Regions from separate parts of the Homo sapiens genome. Here region 1 is linked to region 2. Evidence: promoter capture Hi-C in human tissues and cell types (Jung and others, 2019). All regions are on one chromosome and are shown on one strand. Each heading gives the region's core, a stretch centred on a gene start or on the middle of the fragment in contact. The rest is flanking DNA. Distances are from core to core; before and after follow the strand shown. Region 1 has its middle 80 kb from the start of ALOX12. Region 2 holds the start of FBXO39 (F-box protein 39).

Region 1 (3,340 bases), core at 573-3,072, 140 kb before region 2:
CTCATTAGGAGAGGGATAGTCTGTTATATTTACCCAGATATTTAATGTTTCTGTTGTTCTCGCTTGATTCCCCGTGTTCCAGGTTTCCTTCTCACATCACTTCCCTTCTGTCTGAAGAAATTTCTTAAGCAATTCTTTTAGATTACATATGCTGGAAATTGATTGTCTTAGTTTTTTTTTCTTCTTTTCATCTGAGAATGTCATCATTTCACCTTCATTTCTCAAAGATATTTTTTTCTGGATATAGAATTCTGAGTTGATAGCTCTTTTCTTTCAGCACTTTAAAAATATTATTCTACTTTCTTTTTTTAAAAAAATTTTCTTTCCACAGGTTATTGGGGAACAGGTGGTGTTTGGTTACCTGAGTAAGTTCTTTAGTGGTGATTTATGAGATTTTGGTGCACCCATTACCTGAGCAGTAAACACTGCACCCAATTTGTGTTCTTTAATCCTTCACCCTCTTCCCGCCCTTTCCCCCTGAGTCCCCAAATTCTATTGTGTCATTCTTATGCCTTTGCATCCTCATAGCTTAGCTCCCACTTATGAGTGAGAATATAGGATATTTGGTTTTCCATTCCTGAGTTACTTCACTTAGAATAATAGTCTCCAGTTGCATCCAGGTTGCTGCCATTAACTCGTTGCTTTTTATGGCTGAGTAGTATTCCATCGTATGTATGTGTATATGCATATCACAGTTTCTTTATCCACTTGTTGATTGATGGGCATTTTGGTTGGTTCCACAGTTTCGCAATTGCGAATTGTGCTGCTATAAACATGTGTGTGCAAGTACCTTTTTTGTATAATGACTTCTTTTCCTCTGGGTAGATGCCCAGTAGTGGGATTGCTGGATCGAATGGTAGTTCTACTTTTAGTTCTCTGTGAATCTCCACACTGTTTTCCATAGTGGTTGTACTAGTTTACATTCCCACCAGCAGTGTAGAAGTGTTCCCTGTTCACTACATCCGTGCCAACGTCTATTATGTTTTGATTTTTTTGATGATGGCCATTCTTGCAGGAGTAAGGTGGTATCACATTGTGGTTTTGATTTGTGTTTTCCTGATTAGTGATGTTGAGCATTTTTCATATGTTGGTCATTTTGTATATCTTGAGAATTGTTGTCTATTCATGTCCTTAGCCCACTTTTTGATGGGATTGTTGTTTTCTTGCTAATTCGTTTGAGTTTGTTGTAGATTCTGGATATTAGTGCTTTGTCAGATGAATCTTCTGGCCTCCATTGTTTTTGATGAGAACCCTGCAGTCATTCAAATTATTATTTCTCTATGGGAAATACATTGCTTTTCTCTGCTTGCTTTCAAGATTTTTTTCTTTGGCTTTAGTTTTCACTAGTTTGATTGTGATTATCTGGATGAGGATTTGTTTGTTTTATCCTGTTGGTGATTTGTTGAGATTTTCGAAGCTGTAAGTTATATCTTTTATGAAATTTGAAAAATTGGAAGTCGTTATTTATTTTTTTTGTGCACCACACACTCTTATCTTTCTTTGACTCTGATGACATGAATGTTAGACCTTTTGGTTTTGTCCTTCATGTCCTTGAGACTCTATTTACTTAAACAATTTTTTCTTGATGTCATTCAAATTGCATAGTTTCTATTGAGCTATCTTCAAATTCACTGACTGTTTCCTTTGCTGTCTCCATTCTGCTGCAAGCTCACTCAGTGAGCTAAAACTTTTTTTAAAAATTTATTTTATTATTAATTTATTAATGGGGTACAGGTGGTTTTTGGTGACATGGATGAATTATATAGCGGTGAAGTCTGAGATTTTGGTGCACCCGTCACCTGAATGGTGTACATTGTACCTAATGCATAGATTTTGTTCCCTTGGTCCTCTTCCCACCCTCCTGAATCTCCTTCTGAATCTCTAAAGTCCGTTATATCACTCTGTATGCCTTTGCGTATTCCTAGCTTAGCTCTCACTTATAAGTGAGAACATACAGTGTTTGGTTTTCCATTCCATTATCTCCTAGGGGGTTGGAATGGTAGAGGTTTCTTAAAGCTTATCTCCTTCTCCCATCTCATGCACTTTTTATTTATTTATTTTCCCCCAGTATTTTATTTACTGGTTTGATGGTTCAGGTTTCAGGCCAGTAGAAGAGGTGTCCCTGAGTAGGAATCGGTTGTGGGTAAAGCAAGTGGGTAAATGAAGACCCAGGCTTGACAGAGGTGGCTGGAGGAGCCCTCGGTGAGTCACAGTGAGGTCTTATCAGGGAGAAGGGTTGGAGCCACCTTAGCTCCCCTGCAAGGTCAGCAGGGACGTTTTCCACTTCTTAGATATGCTCCTGTCCCAGCGCTCTGGCTATTCAGATCAGACAGGCACCTCTTTTCATCTGTAGGTGTTGGTGTTCCAAATAGAGAGGAATTGTGACTGTTTCTTGTGCAAGCCTGATCCTGGAGGGTGCTCCTCTTGTGGGGATGCAGTCGCCTTGATGTGTTCCAGAATGGCCGTCTATAGTTGCATCCATGTCGAGCTCCTGTGGGAGAAGTCCCAACTGTGCATATGGTGGTGAACAAGGGGGGAAAGACTGCCTCTTCTCCAAGATCCTTCCCATGCACCAAAGCTGTCTGACTGTTGCGATAGAGCTGAAGGCTTTCCCCGCTGAGCCTAGCACTTCAGCTGCGCCTCTGCTCAAGGAAGCTTTCCACCAGCGGAAGGATCTGATGCTCAAGGCCTGCCATCCCGATTCTTTGGTCCCACAGGGTCTTCCCTTGATGGGGCGCACTCCCCCTTTCCCTATGAGTGGGAGTCCCTGTGAGCCACGCTACTGTGAATGTTGTTGCTCCTCTGGGTCTAGCTGCCCAGTGACGTTGCCACCCTCCAGGCTGGTGTTGGGAAATGCCAGTTGTGAATGCCAGTTTCCCAGAAGTGGGTAGCAACACCAGCTCTACTGGGGGTAGCAGGGGAGTGACGTAGACTCTGAAATTCCTTGGTTATTGGTAGCCATAGTATGTTGGCTTTCTTGAATGCTAGTTATAGTAGTAATGAGCTGGTCATGTGGACTCAGGACCTCCTGGTTAGCCGGAGTGATGCAGGCAGTGGTAATAGCTGAGATCATAGAGCCTCCTTCTTCCTGGGTGCAATGTTATTCTACCAGGAGATGCTGTAATGGACTGTGCTGGTTGGCCTCCAGCCAGGAGGTGGTGCTTGCAAATGAACACCGGCTGCGGTAGGTGGGTGTGTGGGGGGGGGGGGGGGGGAGGGGCGTGGTGGTGGGGGCGTGGAGGGAGGAATACTCTGGTTTCACAGGCAATAGTCAGGGCCACAGAGCTCTCAAGAGATTCTGTCCTTTGTGTTAAGCTACCAGGGCAAGTGGCGGGGCAAA
Region 2 (3,514 bases), core at 227-2,726:
GGTACTTAAACATTTAACAAATGAAGAAATAGGTCTCTTCAATCACTTGCAAACTGCCCAAGGCTAGGGATCTCCACAGCACTCACCACCAAGCAAAGCTCCTAAAAGGTGCTGCAGAAGAGATAAACCAGTTTAAAAGCTCCACGAAGCAAAGACTTGGAATCAACCCAAATGCCCATCAATGATCGACAGGATTAAGAAAATGTGGCACATATACACCATGAAATACTATGCAGCCATAAAAAAGAATGAGTTCATGTCCTTTGCAGGGACATGGATGAAGCTGGAAACCATCATTCTCAGCAAACTAACGCAGGAACAGGAAATCAAACACTGCATGTTCTCACTCATAAGTGGGAGTTGAACAATGAGAACACATGGACACAGGGAGAGGAACATCACACAATGGGGCCTGTCGGGGGGTGGCGGGCAAGGGGAGGGAGAGCATTAGGACAAATACCTAATGCATGCGGGGCTTAAATTCTAGATGACAGGTTGATGGGTGCAGCAAACCACCATGGCACATGTATACCTATGTAACAAACCTGCATGTTCTGCACATGTATCCCAGAACTTAAAGTATAATAAAATAAATAAGTAAATAAAAGCTCCATGAAACCTTTTGGCCTAGCAAGGTTGTAGGTCAGGAAAAGTCATCAGACACTGGTGCTGTAAGGGTGGGGTTGGAAGAATATGTGTGTCTGGAAGAGTTGCTGTAAGGAGACTCCAAATTCTATTTAATGACTGGGAGCCTCCCCTTACCCCCCGAGACCCCATCAGAGGCAGTGTAGCTTAGTGGGCTGCATCCTAGCTATGCCCATTACAGTCGGATGACCTTAGGCAAGTCAATTTCTTTATGTGTGAATCCTCACATCTGTATATGGGGTAATAATAGTGCCTTTCTCTTAGTGTTGGGAGGATTAAGTGAGCTGATACCTGGAAAGCACCGGGAACAGTGAGTGCCTGCCACGTAGTAAACGCTATACAAGAGCTGGCTGCCATTAATAAGAAAGTTGGTGCCGAGGTACTTCTGCAACGTCCCGCCAAGGAAGATAGGAATACAAACACATCCATTTCACAAATACGGAAACGGAGGTGTTGGAAGGTGAATAAAGTTTCCCAGGGAGAACGTGTAGTAAGTGGGGAGATAGGATTCGAACCCAGGGTTGGTCCACCATATCACACAGCTGCCAACCAGGGAGGGAAATCTAAAGATGTCCTACCCACCGCGGGAGGGGGAGTTGGCCTGGCAACTCCTGCAGCCAAAGATGCTTCCCAGAGGGGGTGATGAGAGCAGCCCGCCTCCCCGCCGCGGGCCTCGGGGCATCCCACCGCCACCCCAGCCTGCTCCGGCCCGCATTCTCCCGTTACCCGTTCGCTGAACCCCGCTCGGGCTGCAGGGACTGGAGCGCGCCTACCTGCTCCGCCCGCGCAGCTGTTGCTCCGACGCCAACTCCATGGGCGCCCCGGGTCTGCGCCTTGCTCTGGCCCAAGCTAAATGCCAAGCTCCGGCCGCCTTTGTGACGCGCTGCCGCCTGCAAGGCTCTGTTCCTGCCCCCGGGTCGCAGAGCCCCAAACCTGCAGTTGCCTGGTCAGTGGATCCCATGTGCAGAGGGCGAGACGGGGCCCTGGCCAGGCGTTGGGAGGCGGGAGGCTCGGCCGGCGCTCCGGGTGAGGATGGCACGCCCCCGCCCTTGCTTCTGCGCACAGGGAAGACATTCGGCCCCGAACTTGGGGCTCAAAACGGTTCAGTTCGCTGCCTTTCCCATCCTGACCCAGCCCCGGGTTTTTTCCGAAGCCGCCGCTGGATAGGTTGCATTACTAGGCTTCCCCCAGCCACTCTCCCTGCCCAAAGCCTTCAGAAGCCGCCCCTCTCCCCTTCACCTGGCCCTTATCCACTGTCCCAGCCTCATTTCTTTCCCCCTCCCTGAATGTCTTCTGCTCCCCTTTCCTTGGGCACTGCCCTTATCCTGGGGTCCTGGCTGCTGCCATTCCTGGCCCTGGAAAACCAGTGCGGAACCCAAAGAAAGGTGGAAGAGCAGCTTTTAGAGAGGTGTTTTTATTCTTTGGGGACAAAGCCGGGTTCTGTGGGTGTAGGATTCTCCAGGTTCTCCAGGCTGTAGGGCCCAGAGGCTTAATCAGAATTTTCAGACAAAACTGGAACCTTTCTTTTTTCCCGTTGGTTTATTTGTAGTCCTTGGGCAAACCAATGTCTTTGTTCGAAAGAGGGAAAATAATCCAAACGTTTTTCTTTTAACTTTTTTTTTAGGTTCAGGGGCACATGTGTAGGCTTGCTATATAGGTAAATTGCATGTCACCAGGGTTTGTTGTACAGATTATTTCATCATCCAGATAAAAAGCATAGTACCAGATAGGTAGTTTTTTGATCCTCACCCTCCTTCCATGCTCCGACCTCAGGTAGGCCCCAGTGTCTGCGGTTCCCTTCTTTGTATCCATGTGTACTCAATGTTTAGCTTCTACTTATAAGTGAGAACATGTGGTATTTGGTTTTCTGTTTCTGAGTGAGTTCATTTAGGATAATGGCTTCCAGCTCCATCCACGTTGCTGCACAGGACATGATCCCATTCTTTTTTATGGCTGCATAGTATTCCATGGTGTATATGTGCCACATTTTCTTTTTTTTTTTTTTAAGGCAGAGTCTCGCTTGGTTGCCCAGGCTGGAGTGCAGTGGCAGGATCTCGGCTCACTGCAACCACCACCTTCCAGGTTCAAGCGATTCTCACGCCTAGGCCTCCCAAGTAGCTGGGATGACAGGTGCTCGCCACCACGCCTGGCTAATTTTCGTATTTTTAGCGGAGACGGAGTTTCTCCATGTTGGCCAGGCTGGTCTCAAACTCCTGACCTCAGGTGAACCACCCGCCTCAGCCTCCCAAAGTGCTGGGATTACAGACATGAGCCACCACTCCCTGCCACCACATTTTCTTTATCCTTTCTACCACTGATGGACATTTAGTTTGATTCCCTGACTTTGCGATTGTGTATAGTGCTGCCGTGAACATTTGTGTATATATGTCTTTATGACAGAATGATTTAGATTCCTTTGGGTATATAACCAATAATGGGATTGCTGAGTCAAATGGTAATTCTGTTTAATCATGTCCCATTTGTCAATTTTTGCTTTCGTTACAATTATTTTTGGGATCTTTGTCATGAAATCTTTTTCCGTTCCTATGTCCAGAATGGTATTGCCTAGGTTATCTTCCAGAGTTTTTATAGTTTGGGGTTTTACATTTAAGTCTTTAATCCATCTTGAGTTGATTTTTGCATATGGTGTAAGGAAGTGGTTCAGTTTCAATCCTCTGCATATGGCTAGCTAGTTATCCCAGTACCACTTACTGAATGGGGAATTCTTTCCCCATTGCGTATTTTTGTCAACTTTGTCAAAGATTAGATGGTTGTAGGTGTGTAGCTTTATTTCTGGGCCCTCTATTCTGTTCCATTGATCTATGTGTCTGCTTTTGTACCAGCACCATGCTTTTGTACCAGTATCATG

The links. The method cuts DNA at HindIII sites, captures the fragments that hold promoters and counts their contacts. A contact is called where the count stands out against the background at its distance.
Region 1: a fragment that was not itself captured here is called in contact with the fragment with the promoter of FBXO39 in region 2 in 1 of the 25 tissues and cell types used here (liver).

The regions. Positions count from the first base shown.
Region 1 is chr17:6,914,608-6,917,947 of GRCh38, reverse strand. No RefSeq gene overlaps it. Among named protein-coding and RNA genes, the nearest start is that of ALOX12, 80 kb to the left of the region's middle. RefSeq lists an enhancer at 3,084-3,340. The HindIII fragment of the contact is 5,172 bases long and covers 1-3,340 here.
Region 2 is chr17:6,774,177-6,777,690 of GRCh38, reverse strand. FBXO39 (F-box protein 39) reads right to left here and starts at 1,476. Exons shown (of 4, transcript NM_153230.3): 1 at 1,419-1,476. XAF1 (XIAP associated factor 1) reads right to left here. Exons shown (of 7, transcript NM_017523.5): 7 at 2,044-3,514. It overlaps LOC124903905 (a long non-coding RNA gene), which reads left to right and starts at 1,581. Exons shown (of 3, transcript XR_007065594.1): 1 at 1,581-1,671. The HindIII fragment of the contact is 13,622 bases long and covers 1-3,514 here.